Linked DNA regions of Homo sapiens: all the other regions are linked to region 1. Evidence: promoter capture Hi-C in human tissues and cell types (Jung and others, 2019). All regions are on one chromosome and are shown on one strand. The core of a region is centred on a gene start or on the middle of the fragment in contact, and the rest is flanking DNA. Distances in the headings are between cores, read along the strand shown. Region 1 holds the start of URB1 (URB1 ribosome biogenesis factor). Region 2 overlaps LOC124905008 (a long non-coding RNA gene). Region 3 has its middle 70 kb from the start of SCAF4.

The links. Contacts are between HindIII fragments. The study calls those that stand out against the background at their distance.
Region 2: a contact is called between a fragment that was not itself captured here and the fragment with the promoter of URB1 in region 1, in 1 of the 25 tissues and cell types used here (thymus).
Region 3: a contact is called between a fragment that was not itself captured here and the fragment with the promoter of URB1 in region 1, in 2 of the 25 tissues and cell types used here (lymphoblastoid cells and mesendoderm cells).

Annotation. Positions count from the first base shown.
Region 1 is chr21:32,390,264-32,395,075 of GRCh38, forward strand. URB1 (URB1 ribosome biogenesis factor) reads right to left here and starts at 2,749. Exons shown (of 39, transcript NM_014825.3): 1 at 2,506-2,749. The coding sequence starts at 2,647. It overlaps URB1-AS1 (URB1 antisense RNA 1 (head to head)), which reads left to right and starts at 2,870. Exons shown (of 1, transcript NR_026845.1): 1 at 2,870-3,697. RefSeq lists enhancers at 2,015-2,797, 2,657-2,951, 2,798-3,579, 3,102-3,351. The HindIII fragment of the contact is 16,791 bases long and covers 1-4,812 here.
Region 2 is chr21:31,738,341-31,743,152 of GRCh38, forward strand. The region is part of intron 1 of LOC124905008 (a long non-coding RNA gene); the gene reads left to right. Among named protein-coding and RNA genes, the nearest start is that of SCAF4, 8.6 kb to the left of the region's middle. The HindIII fragment of the contact is 5,403 bases long and covers 1-4,812 here.
Region 3 is chr21:31,799,966-31,804,777 of GRCh38, forward strand. No RefSeq gene overlaps it. Among named protein-coding and RNA genes, the nearest start is that of SCAF4, 70 kb to the left of the region's middle. RefSeq lists enhancers at 240-740, 741-1,241. The HindIII fragment of the contact is 3,044 bases long and covers 891-3,934 here.

The DNA of each region.
Region 1 (4,812 bases), core at 1,499-3,998:
ATAGATACTACATCTTTTTAACAATTAAACGTGCTCTTTCTTCTGCCAGTAAGGTTCCTGTCCCTGTCCCATCCTACAATCCTTTTGAAAAGCCACTTCCTCTGATGGCCAGTGATGATGAGCATTTTTTCATGTGTCTTTTGGCTGCATAAATGTCTTCTTTTGAGAAGTGTCTGTTCATATCCTTTGCCCACTTTTTGATGGGGTTTTTTTTTTTCTTGTAAATTTGTTTGAGTTCATTGTAGATTCTGGATATTAGCCCTTTGTCAGATGAGTAGATTGCAAAAATTTTCTCCCATTCTGTAGGTCGCCTGTTCACTCTGATGGTAGTTTCTTTTGCTGTGCACAAGCTCTTTAGTTTAATTAGATCCATCAGAGAAATGCAAATCAAAACCACAATGAGATACCATCTCACACCAATTAGAATGGCGATCATTAAAAAGTCAGGAAACAACAGGTGCTGGAGAGGATGTGGAGAAATGGGAACACTTTTACACTGTTGGTGGGACTGTAAACTAGTTCAACCATTGTGGAAGTCAGTGTGGCGATTCCTCAGGGATCTAGAACTAGAAATACCATTTGACCCAGTCATCCCATTACTGGGTATATACCCAAAGGATTATAAATCATACTGCTATCAAGACACATGCACACGTACGTTTACTGTGGCACTATTCACAATAGCAAAGACTTGGAACCAACCCAAATGTCCAACAATGATAGACTGGATTAAGACAATGTGGCACATATACACCATGGAATACTATGCAGCCATAAAAAACGATGAGTTCATGTCCTTTGTAGGGACATGGATGAAGCTGGAAACCATCATTCTCAGCAAACTATCGCAAGGACAAAAAACCAAACACCGCATGTTCTCACTCATAGGTGGGAACTGAACAATGAGAACACATGGACACAGGAAGGGGAACATCACACACCGGGGCCTGTTGTCGGGTCGGGGGGAGGGGGGAGGGACAGCATTAGGAGATATACCTAAGGTTAAATGACGAGTTAATGGGTGCAGGACACCAACATGGCACATGTATACATATGTAACAAAGGGGCACGTTGTGCACATGTACCCTAAAACTTAAAGTATGATTAAAAAAAAAAGAAAAGAAAAGCCACTTCCTCAGGGGAGCCTTCTTTGAGCTCCCAGATTAGATCCAAGGTCTGTTAAACACCCTCAGGCACCATGTACCTCTCCTTTGGAAAACTCGTGCTTGAAACTGTATGTATGTGATTTTACTGACCAATATCTGCCTGCCCCACTCGACTGTTTGTAAACCCCACAATGGCAGAGGCTTTTTGACATTTTTATTCATCACTTTATCTCTACCGTAGCAAATAATAGCCTCTAGTAATACTTAATGAATTCGGAAATAAATAACTCTATGCTAACTAAGTATCATCTTCCTAGCTGTGACTAGCAAGTACAGGTATAGGTATCAAAGTTTAAAAACAGGCCAGGTGTGGTGGCTCATACCTATACTCCCAGCCCTTTGAGAAGACAAGGTGGGAAGATTGCTTGAGACTGGGAGTTCGAGGGCAGCCTGGACAACATAGTGAGATTCCATCTCTACAAAAAGTAAAAAAAAAAAAAAAAACATAGCTGGGCATGGTGTTGTGCACCTACAATCTCAGCTACTTGGGAGGCTGAGGTGGGAGGACAGCTTAAGCCCAGAAGTTCAAGGCTGCAGTGAGCTATGATAGTGCCACTGCACTTCAGCCTGGGCAACAGAGCAAGACCCTGTCGTTTAAAAAAAAAAATGAGGACAAAAATTGGAAGTTGAAGATATTTTGGCCATTAATTTAATCGTTTATTTAACCTGGGAGAAAAACTGCCACTGTTTTATTTTAGAGCAATGCTTCCACATGGCAACACGTTCAATTGCGTTTTTCCCAAACCATGTTACTTTCCAAACGATTACAAGTAGTCGCGAAGGGTGGTCACACTTTACAAAAAGTGTAATTAAATTATAGAGTCGGCTACATCTCAGTCACTGGCCCATTCCTGGTCAACTGACAAGTAGCTGTGGTGGCTTCTAGTAGCTTGTTACAAGTCATCAAGTCAGTATGAGTGTTGGGGGATGGAAGCTATTGAAAACGGTGCTGACGGCCCAAGGAGTAGCAAACTGTCTCATGAACCGTCCTGAGCCGACTCAGTAAGGACTCAATAGAGAAGGACACTTCATTTACTTCCCTGACAACTGCAATAAAGAGGTTTTAGAGCTCGCTGAGGGATGCTGCCTGGGCAAGGGAAATAAATGTGTTGTAACATGAAACGGTCCCAATCAAGCAAGTCGGGGCCCTCTCGCTGTCGCCGACAGTCCAGAGCAAGGAAGTACACAGCAGTCCTGAACCTCAGTTTTCTGCAAACCAGAGGCTTGCCACTGAGCCTATGTGACCCGAAAGCTGCAGAAAGGAGAGGCTGTGCCCGGCACACGGAGGCCGCCTCGCCAGCCTGTGCTCCCGACCCTGCGCCTGCCGCCCCGGACTCACCTGGCCCGGGGCCCTGCGGGTCCTTCAGCTGAGCCTTGAACCGCACGCCCGTGAGCTCTTCTTTGCGGGCGCGCTTGGCTGCACCCGCGGAGGAAGCCGCGCCGTCCTGGCCGCCCGAGGCCTTCCTCTTGGGGACCCCCATGGCCGAGAGGGCGGAAGCGCGACGGAAACGACACACCTGAGGGGACCCGGCAGGAGCACTGGCACAGACAGCAGACACGCGCTTCAGGCCCACATGGCGCAGGAAGAGGCGGGGCTGGCGGAAGAGGCGGGGCTGGCGGAAGAGGCGGGGCTCGGGGAAAGGCCGGCGGAAGGGGCCGACCCGCGCGAGGCTGGGACCGGCGGAAGGGGCGTGGCCTGCAGAAGGGGCGGGGCGATAGGGATCCAGAGTCTTGGGGATCCAGAGTCTTGGGGCTCCATGTGAGTTTGCTGTACCGGTTGTCCCGGTCACGGCATGGGGCGAGCGGACACTCCACGACACCCCCCGCCCCCGGCTGCAGGGTTTGGGGTCCACCGGGGCGCATTTCTGATCCCAGTGGCTCTTCGGGTGCTCTTGGCCGGAAGAACTCCCAGACCTTTCACTCCTGGCCTGGCCGATCCACGAAGACTCGGGCCCCGGCGCGTCCAAGCAGCACAATGAGTAGTTCTTGACCCGAGGTCGCCCTGAAGGTGTCGCATGAAGAGCTTGCTTCACACACAACAGGATTCGATACTTTGCCAATTCAAGGCCCTGGTGGCTGGCCGGGAAGGTGGATTCGCCTTGGCTAGGTGCCAGGCAGGTCCGCCTGTGCGGGTGCCCCTGACTTCGACCCCTAGCTTATGTCACAGCCCGAACCAGATCGACTGGTCTGGTAGCAGCCTGTCACTCCAGACTGTCCTCCACCCCAGACTTCCGCAAACTGATGGGCTCTTTGCGCCGTGCAGGGTGGGAGGAGAAGACCAAACGAAGTAACGTCTGTAAAACCCCTTCCTGGACAGCGTAAGGCCTCCACATCTAAGTTCCTGTCATTAAAATGGAGACAGCAAAGCCGACCCTATCCAGTCCTTGGGACTGTTATGAACAGAAAATGATGCAATGTATGAAAAACTGCTTTGAGGAGAAAAACAACACAGTGTGTTTTTGGAAGATGTGATTGATTTGTAAACCGCATTAAATGCTCTGAAATAAAATGAAAGTAAAAATAAGTAAAAACAGGCTGGTACATATTTTAATACGACTTCATCGATACTTAGGTATGTGTCCAAATAAATCATGAACCAGCGCATTAGATAAGTAACTTGGTGATTACTGAAATTCTCCATCAGGTTGTCCTCTAGTCTAAGAAAATTGTGTTTCATATTCTGTAAGCAGATGTGTTTTGAACATCTGAGGATGTGGGCTTTTGTGGCCTGTTGGGGTCTCAGAGTTTCTAGTAGAAAAAGCACGTGTGTTGACGCTGAGCCTCTGTCCCGACAAGATGATTGTGCCTGTGGAGATGTCTATGTTGTAGGCAGGTCAGAGAGAGGGTGTCACCCCTAGCAGATATGAGCTAATGCAGCAATGTTAAGAGAGGGGAATATGCTCAAAAAGTCATCTGTAAAAGGCAACACTCATTAGTGAATACAGACTTAATTCTGACTGATTATCCACACTGGTCCTCTTCTTTGGTTAATCGCTAACCACCAACTTTGTTTTCTGCCATGGTGGTCCCAACCAAAAAGTTATCAGAAAGAGTTAGGAAACAGTCAAAAGCCCTGAGTTCAGTTTCTGCCTGTGTGACCTTGGGCAAATTACCATCCCTCTGTGCTGGTTTGCTTTACAAACAATTAAAGAGCATGAGGAACTTCCCAGGATTATCCAGCTAGTAACTGGTGGAGCCAGGACTCACCCAGTGTATCCTAGTCCCAAATTAAAAACAAAGAAACAGAAGTTGGCAGTGCCCATTTACAGCCTTAGCCAGAGATGTATGGATGGCAAGTGTGGCTCAGAAGTGCATTTGGATGTTTTAGACTAAGTTAATGCCATGAATCATTGATGCTGGGTTAACCCTTTGTTCAGATATGAGGCTCACCAACCTCTGGATAGTGACTTGTCTTTCCATATCAAAGCTTTGTATTATTTGCCTCCAGGAGCATTCTGGTTTGTTGCAGACTATGTGGTACTGCTCCTAGGACATTCTAAGCTGAGGAAAAAAGCCCGAGAGCTTTTGTACTTGTTCCCTCTCTTTGAAACTCTTTGCCCAGAGCTCAAGTGGCTCAGATGTGGACTTTTCCTGTACATACCTCACTCTCTGTCTCCCGACCTTTCTTGATTGGGCCTACTTTATA
Region 2 (4,812 bases), core at 909-3,408, 650 kb before region 1:
TGTATTTTTAGTAGAGACAGAGTTTCACCATGTTGGCCAGGCTGGTCTTGAACTCCTGACCTTGTGATCCCCCCACCTCGGCCTCCCAAAGTGCTGGGATTACAGGCGTGAGCCACCGCACCCGGCCATGTATACTTTCTTTAGTAAAGTGTTCAAATCGTTTGCCCTTTAAAAAAACGGATCATTTGGAAGCTTCAATAGGAAGCTATTGAATGATATGAGTCCTTTGTCAGATATGTGTGTTGTAAACATTTCCTCACAGTCTGTGGCTTTCCTTTTCATTTTCTTTTGAAAAGCAGATGTTTTTAATTTTGATGGATATAATTTATACTTTTTTCTTTTATGGTTTGTGCTTTTCTGTCATATTGAAAAATTTTTGCTTATCCCCAGGATATGGAAATGTTCTCCTCTATTTTCTTCTTGACTCTTTATAGCTTAGCACTTTTGTTTAAGTCTGTGATCCATTTTGATTTAATATATGTGTATGAGATAAGATAAATATCAAGCTTCATTTTTTTACATTAGGATATCTAGTTGTTCCAGCACTATTTGTTGGAAAAAAAGATCATTTCCCCCATTGAATTACTTTGCCTCCTTTGTTGAAAATCAGTTGACCACATATGTGTGGATCTAGTTCCACGTATGTGTACTCTGTTCCTTTATATATATCTATATACTTTTCTTGCATATACATAGCCCACTGTCTTAATTTCTCTAGTAATTCAAGTAAATCAGTTAAAGTCTCCAACATAGTTCTTTTAAAAATTGTTTTCACTATGCTGTAATCTTTGCATTTCTATATAAATTTTTAAATCAACTTGTTAATTTCAAAAAAAAAAAAACACCCCACACAACTGAAAACAAGACAAAATAGGAAGTATGCTGGCTAGGCGTGGTGGCTCACGCCTGTAATCCCAGCACTCTGGGAGGCCGAGGTGGGCGGATCACGAGGTCAGGAGTTTGAGACCAGCCTGGCCAACGTGGTGAACCCCCGTCTCTATTAAAGATACAAAAAATTAGCTGGTCATGGTGGCGCTCGCCTGTGCACCTGTAATCCCAGCTACTTGGGAGGCTGGGGCAGGAGAATTGCTTGAACCTGGGAGGCAGAGGTTGCAGGGAGCCGAGATCACGCCATTGCACTCCAGCCTGGGCAACAGGGTGAGACTCCGTCTCAAAAAACAAAACAACAACAACAACAACAAAAATCACAAATGGGTGTTAATGTTGTCAGATACCATGGCTATATTCATTGGGATGATTATGTGATTTTGTCTATTCTATTATATTAATGAATTACTGTGATTGGTTTTTGAATGTGAAACCAACCTGGCATTCCTATAATAAAATCCACTTGGTTATGGGATATTACTTTTTTTATATGTTGCCGGGTTCAATTTGCAAAGATTCTGTCTGTCAAAATATTTCCTTCTATATTCATGAGTGGTATTGGTGGTCTCTGTTTTCCTTTTCTTGTAATGGTTTTGGTGTCGGGGTAGCTTGCTCTCATCAAATTATTTGATAAGTGCTTCTCTCCTTCCCTGTTATCTATTTTTTTTTTTTTTTTTTTTAGATAGCGTTTTGCTCTTGTCACCCGGCTGGAGGGCAGTGGTGCGATCTTGGCTCACTGCAACCTCCTGGGTTCAAGCGATTCTCCTGCCTCAGCCTCTCAAGTAGCTGGGATTACAGGCAGCTGCCACCATGCCCAGCTAATTTTTGTATTTTTACTAGAGATGGGGTTTCACCATGTTGGCCAGGCTGGTCTCGAACTCCTGACCTCAGGTGATCCACCTGCCTCGGCCTCCCAAAGTGCTGGGATTACAGGTGTGAACCACCACACCCGACCTCCTTCTCTATTTTCTAAAATAGCCTGTGTGGAATTGATATTATTTCTTTCTTAAGATTTGTTAGAATTCACCAATGAAGCCACTTGGGCCTAAAGTTTTGCTTATGAGAGGGTTTTATATTAATCAATTTTTAAAATTGATATAGTGTTCTTCAGGTCTTCTGTTTCTCGAGGGAGTTTTGATCATTTGTATTTTTTTCAGAAAATTGTCCATTTAAAGGTTGTCAATTTATTGCATAAAGTTTTTCCATGATATTCTGTTATTACCCTTTTAATGTCTGTAGTGATATTTCCTCTTTCATTTCTGATATTGATAATTTCTATCTTCTTTTTTTTCTTTTCTTGTTGAGTGAGGTTAGAGATTCATCTATTTTGTTGTTCCAAAAACCAAAGAAACAGTTTTTGGTTTCATTGATTAGCTCTATTGTTTGTGGACTTTCTAGTTCATTGATTTTCACTCTTATTTCCTTTCTTCTGCTTCCTTTATATTTAATTTGCTCTTTTCAAGTTTTTTTTTTTTTTTTTTTTTTGAGACAATGTCTCACTCTGTCGCCCAGGCTGGAGTGCAGTGGGGTGATCTTGGCTCACCACAACCTCTGCCTCCCGGGTTCAAGCAATTTTCCTGCCTCAACCTCCTGAGTAGCTGGGACTACAGGTGTGCGCCACCATGCCTGGCTAATTTTTGTATTTTTAGTAGAGACGGGGTTTCACCATTTTGGCCAGGCTAGTCTTGAACTCCTGACCTTGTGATCTGCCCACCTCGGCCTCCCTAAGTGCTTGGATTACAGGGGTGAGCCACTGTGTCCGGCCTCTTTTCCGGTTTCTTAAAGTGGAGGCCTAGATCATTGATTTTAGCCTTTTTTTTTTTTTTTGAGATGGAGTCTCGCTCTGCCACCCAGGCTGGAGTGCAGTGGCACCATCTCGGCTCACTGCAACCTCCACCTCCCTAGTTCAAGCAATTCTCCTGTTGCAGCTTCCTGAGTAGCTGGGATTACAGGCACATACCACCATGCCCGGCTAATTTTTTTTTATGTTTAGTAGAGATGGGGTTTCATCATGTTGGCCAGACTGGTCTCGAACTCTTGACCTCAGGCGTGAGCCAACACGCCCAGCCGAGCCTTTTTTTTTTTTTTTTTTTTTGTATTGTAAGCATTTAAAACTTTAAATTTACTTCTCAAATTTTGGAGTGTTGTATTTCTTAAATATTTAGTTCAAAATATTTTGTAATTTCCCTTGGGAGTTTTTCTTTTCCCTAAGTTCTTATTTATGAAAGTATTGTTTAAATTCCAAATAGTTGGGAATTTCTGTTATCTTTCTGTGATTGATTATACTAATCGAATTCCATTATAGTCACATATCATACTTCATATGATTTCAGTTTTTTTTTAATTATTGTGACTTGTTTTGTGGCTCAATTCATGGTCTACCTAGATGATTGCTCCATGTGCACTTTAAAATAATATATATTCCGCTCTTGTTAGGTAGGATAATAATATATATTCCGCTCTTGTTAGGTAGGATAATAATATATATTCCGCTCTTGTTAGGTAGGATAATAATATATATTCCGCTCTTGTTAGGTTCTGTTAACGTCTCTTGGATCAAGTTGGTTGATGGTATTATTTAAGTCTTCTAGATTTCTATTCTTTTTCTACCTGCTTATTATGTCAATTAGAGAGGAGATTTGATGTCTCCTGATGTGATTGTGCATGTATTTATTTCTCCTTTCAATAGCTTTGTGTATTTTTTTCTTTGTTTGGTTGGTTTTTGAGATGGAGTCTCCCTTTGTTGCCCAGGCTGGAGTGCATTGGTGTGATCTTGCCTCACTGCAGCCTCCGCCTCCCGGGTTCAATCGATTCTCCTGCCTCAGCCTCCTGAGTAGCTGGGATTACAGGCATGTGCCACCATGCCCCGCTAATTTTTGTATTTTTGGTAGAGACAGGATTTCACCATGTTGACCAGGGTGGTCTCAAACTCCTGACCTCAAGTGGTCTGCCCACCTCAGCCTTCCAAAGTGTTGGGATTACAGGTGTGAGCCACTGCGTCTGGCTGACTCATGTATATTGAAGCTTTGTTACTAGGTACGTAAAAATTTAGCATTATTATTTCTCCTTGATGAATAGACTCCTTATCAATTGGAAAATTTTCTCTTTTTTCTGGTAACATTCCTTGCCCTGAATTCTCTTTTACCTGATATTGAAAAGCCACTTTGGCTTTCTTGTGGTTAATACTTGCTTGGTATATTTTTTTTCCATCCTTTTGCCTTTAATCTATCTGTGTCTTTATTTTTAAAGTGGATTTTTTTGTGGACAGCATATAGTTGGGCCTTGCATTTCAGTCCATTCTGACATGTCTGACTTAACTGAATTGTTTAGACCATTCACATTTAATGTAGTTGTCAATAGGGTTGAGTTTCATTCTACCATTTTGCTGTCTGTTTTCGGTTTGTCCTGTCTGCTCTACTATTTTTCTCTTCATTTGGCTTTTTTTGGCATAGTTGAGTATTTTATTAGTATTTTATTTGAACTCTACTAGTTAACTTACTATGTGCACCTCTTTTTCTTTAGTGGTTGATCTAAGGTTTACAATATGCATCTTTTTTTTTTTTTTTTTTTTTGAGACGGAGTGTTGCTCTGTGGCCCAGGCTGGAGTGCAGTGGCGCTATCTCAGCTGAGTGCAAGCTCCGCCTCCCAGGTTCATGCCATTCTCCTGCCTCAGCCTCCTGAGTAGCTGGGACTACAGGTGCCTGCCACCATGCCTGGCTAATTTTTTGTAATTTTAGTAGAGACGGGGTTTCACCATGTTAGCCAGGATGGTCTCGATCTCCTGACATTCTGATCCACCTGCCTCGGCCTCCCAAAGTGCTGGGATTACAGGCGTGAGCCACCGCACCTGGCCTACAATATGCATCTTTAAGTTATTACAGTCCACTTTCAAATAAACTTATGCTACTCGACATATAATGTGTG
Region 3 (4,812 bases), core at 1,163-3,662, 590 kb before region 1:
TGGAGCCTGCTTCCTATTCACAGGCAGCTTCAAGCTTAGCCAGGCAAAACGACCGTGGTAATGGCTGAACTCTCAAAAGCATGTAAGTGTGGATGTGTGTGTGTGTGTGTGTGTGTGTGTGTGTGTGTGTGTGTGTGGAATGGGTGTCTATGTGTATATATGTATGCATATGAGTTTGGAGGCATGTGTGCTATATGTATGTGTTTGGAGAGGGTGTGTGTGTGAGTATAGGTGTGTGTGGGGGAATGGAATGGTATGTGTATGATGTGTTCATGTGATCCCAAGAGTTGATAGTTGTGCTCTGAGCCCCAGCAGTTGCACAAGTTTGCCAGCCCTCAGATGTGGGCGCAGAAGACATTCCTGGCTCCCTGTTCTGGCAAGAGAGTCGGTGACAGCCCTGCAGGGGGACTGGAGAATGGGGAGTCGGGGAGTCCCAGGTGTGGAGCACAGGAAGGGCGGGAGGCCGGTTTCCAGGCCTGGGCGAGCCTCCCATCCTCACCCCTCTCCCAGTTAGAGTGAGAGGCAGAGGGAGTGACAGGCTGATTTTGCTGCTAGCAGTCATCAGTCTCGGACCTGCTGCCAATCTGCGGAGCTGCTGTAAGCAGCTCCCCGGCTATTGTCACTGAGCAGTGACACACAGATCGGATGGGATCCTGTGCTTTGCGGCTCCACCCTCGGCTGGGGTCTCCTGAATAAGAAAGTGCACGCCCAGACAGGTCTGCCTCAGTCCTGCTCATGGGGGGCATGCCAATTCCAGAGCTTCCCTGGATCAGGCTGCCCCTCTGCCAGCCCACCACGCAGGTGGGATGGAGTGAGCAGTCAGCAGAGCCGATTTTCCTCAGAGCTCTTATAAAGCCTGAGTAAAAACAAGCTCAAAGTGTTATTTCTATTCTCTCACTCCACAACAATTAACATAGAAGACTTCTGAGACCAAATGTGTGTGAGTTTCCCCCACACTCCAAGCAAGCAATCAGTCTGCAGCGGACACCAGCTGGCTGTACTCCAGTTGAATGCCATCTACCTGGAGCTAGCGTCACATCCCACAGGGCCAGGGGCTCAGCCCCCAAGGCTGCCCCCCTCTTCTGATGCCAATCATAAGCCCCTGGTTATTTTGCCTGTGCTTGTGACTCACCAGCTCTGAATTGGGGTTCCCACAACCTCCTCCTTTGGTTCGATTAATTTGCTGGAGCTGCTCACAGACTTCAGGAAATCCTTATGTTTACCAGTTTATTACAAAGGATATTTTAAGATATACAAATGAGGCTGGGCACGGTGGCTCACACCTGTAATCCCAGCACTTTGGGATGCCGAGGGGGGCGGATTACCTGAGGTCAGGAGTTCGAGACTAACCTGGCTAACATGGTGAAACCCTGTCTCTACTGAAAACACAAAAATTAGCTGGGTGTGGTGGCAGGTGCTTGTAATCCCAGCTACTCGGGAGGCTGAGGCAGGAGAATCGCTTGAACCCCAGGAGGCAGAGGTTGCAGTGAGCCAAGATTGAGCCACTGCACTCCAGCCTGGGCGACAGAGTGATACTCCTTTCAAACAACAACAACGAAAAGATACAAATAAACACTCAGATGAAGAGATACACAGGAGGAGGTCTGGAGGAGTCCTGAGCCCAGAGCTTCTGTCCCCGTGGAGTTGGGGTGCGCCACGGTCCAGGCACATGGTTGTTGTGTAAGCCCCTGTGTGTCTGGCTATCTGCTGGCTCTCTGAACCCCGTCCTTTCGGGTTTTTATGTAAGCTTCATTACGCAGGCATGATTGATGACATCATTGGGCATTGGTGAACAACTTGACCTTCAACCCCTCTCCCCTTTGCTGAGGTTGGGGAGGGGGCTGAAAGTCCCAACCCTCTAATCCCGCCTTGGTCTTTCTGGTGACCAGCCCCCATCCCAAAGTTATCTAGGGGTTGCCAGTCATCAGTCAAATCATTTACATAGAGAAGACATCACTTTGGAGACTCTGAGGATTTTAGGAATTATATGCCAGGAAACAAGATGAAAACCAGACGTGTTTCACAATATCGTAGAATTCCAGAAATGGAGGCTACTCTTGCAGGACTGCTATACATGAGCCTTGAAAAATCGATATGGCAGTACAATACACACTAGCCATTTACTGTTTGGTAGTGGAGGGAGGGGTGGAGTCTTACCAAGTAAAGCAGTGGTTTAAAAACACAGACAGATGGAGACATTTGAGCCCTGGAGTCTGAATATCAAAGATTCCTGGAAATTACAGATTCCTGGGGTTTCTCTCCTGACAGGTTTGGACAAGAGTTCCTTGGCCTCTGGGTGTCCCCCCAACCCCCATCCCAACAGTGGTGCCCTCATAAATTATTGCAAAACTGACCCAGTGTGGTCTTAAGGAAAGGGAAAGATGTGTAAATAGGGGTTAAGGGCTATTTAAAGGGAACAATCTCCTCCCTCATATTACTTTTTTTTTAAATTTTATTATTATTATACTTTAAGTTTTAGGGTACATGCGCACAATGTTCACGTTTTTAAAATTGACTCACCAAAGGCCAGCATGGCCTGTGACCCTGTGCCTGCAGGCTCACATTTTCTAAATGACAAAGTGCTTCCTGCCTCCCGACAGCATTTCAGACAAGTCAACCTCGGGTCACTGTTTTTTTTTTTTTTTTTTACCCGCTTAGAATTGATGGGTTCCCTTGGTCTTCGGTGAGCCCCTTCAGTGCTGATACCCATCTGGTTATTCTTCCTTTTTTCTCTCGGTCTTTCATTCCTTTCTTTGACTTGTGTTGACAAAGCACCTAGGAATCATCCTTTTGAAAAAATTGTTTTACTCTTACTGTAGTCAGCAAAGTTCACTTTATATTTTCTCAATGTTCATTTTAAAAGTAGAAATTTCTCCAGGCACAGTGGCTCACACCTGTAATCTCAGCACTTTGGGAGGCGGACGTGGGTGGATCACTTAAGGTCAGGAGTTTGAGACCAGCCTGGCCAACAGGGTGAAGCCTCGTGTCTTCTAAAAATGCAAAACTTAGCCAGGCGTGGTAGTGGGCGCCTGTAGTCCCAGGTACTTGGGAGGCTGAGGCAGGAGAATCGCTTGAACCTGGTAGGCGGAGGTTGCAGTGAGCCGAGATTGCACAACTGCACTCCAGCCTGGGTGGCAGAGTGAGACTTGGTCTCAAAAAAAAAAAAAAAAAAAAGAAATTTCGCTTATCGGTCTTTCTTATAAGCATTACTTACATTATAGATCAGAGCGATGCACTAGAACTTTTCAAAATGATGGGAATGTTCTGTACCTGCACCGTCCTATTAAACTAGCCACCAGCCACCTGTAGCACTTGAACACTTCAAATGTGACTAGTGTGATCGAGAAACCACATTTTCAATTTTACTTAATTCTATTCAATTAAAATGTAAATAGCCGCATGTGACTAGTGGCTGCAGTAGCTAACCGTGTAAGTAGGGAACAAGTACGGATCTCCAAGGTGCTCCTCCTCCAAATCCCAGCAAATTCAGATTGCTTTTTCCTTGAGCAACCCAGGCACACTCCTTCATCCTTCTCTCGGCCCCCTTGGCATGAGAGGAAGTAGGCAAACACTCAGCTTTTTGCCCTGCTGTTCCTACAGCTCTGAGAGTCCTTCACACGGTGAGTAAGAGGTTGGGTTCGGAAAAGCTTGCTGAAATGTCATTAATATGGGTGAGAATATTTCAGTTCTTCGCCAAGCATTTTCTTTCTTGACACAACAGGTTTACCTGCTTACGCATAAAGGAAAGCAATGGCTAAACCCTGAAATGAAATGCCTGGGTCCCAGGTGGCTCATAGTTCTATTTCAATTTAATGCATGTTTAAACAAACGTAAGTTATTAGAGTTATGTACGCTTGAAGGTACTATATGACGAACATTTTGGGAGAAAGCTTATGGGAATTACAGTTACATAACCGGAGAAGAATTTGAAGAGTCCCGGGTTTGCATGGAGGAAAGAAGCTCAAGGCTGCATTTAAGCTTCCAACTGAGGCACTGTCTCTCTAAGACATTACTGGAATCTGACTGTAATTGGGTGACTGTTGGCAAAGACCTAGGATGAGGGAGACGATTAGGAAGCATCTGTTTATACAAAGAGGACAAAGGGACAAGGCATTTCCAGGGTGGAAAAAAACCTCAGACTTTTTAGCAAAAGTCAAAGGCAATGGTGAAACCCTGAAAGGAGGAAGTGGCTGGAAATATAGTGCAGACAATGGTGTACACCTGGAAAGGATCTAAAAACCCGAGAGAGCTCATCAGTGTCAGAAAACAAGATTGATGAGGCCTACCTGAGCGTGGGTGTCAGACAGAGACTATGTACGGGAACGATTCCTAGATTTGGAGAAGAGTTCTTGGTTAAAACAACAGGAGGTAGCCCTTTATTTTTCTCTTTCTTTCTTTCTTTCTTTCTTTCTTTCTTTTTTTCTTTCTTTCTTTCTTTTTCTTTTCTCCTTCCTTCCTTCCTTCCTTCCTTCCTTCCTTCCTTCCTTCCTTCCTTCCTTCCTTCTCTCTCTCTCTCTCTCTTTCTTTCTTTCTTTCTTTCTCTTTCTTTCAAGACAGAGTCTGGCGCTGTTGCCCAGGCTGGAGTGCAGTGGTGCAGTCTTGGCTTACTGCAACCTCTGCCTCCTGGGTTCAAGTGATTCTCCTGCCTCAGCCTCCTGAGTAGCTGGGACTACAGGCACATGCCACCATGCCTGGCTAATTTTTGTATTTTTAGTAGAGACGGGGTTTCACCATATTGGTCAGGCTGGGATTGAACTCCTAACCTCGTGATCCACCCGCCTTGACCTCCCAAAGTGCTGGGATTAAGGCATA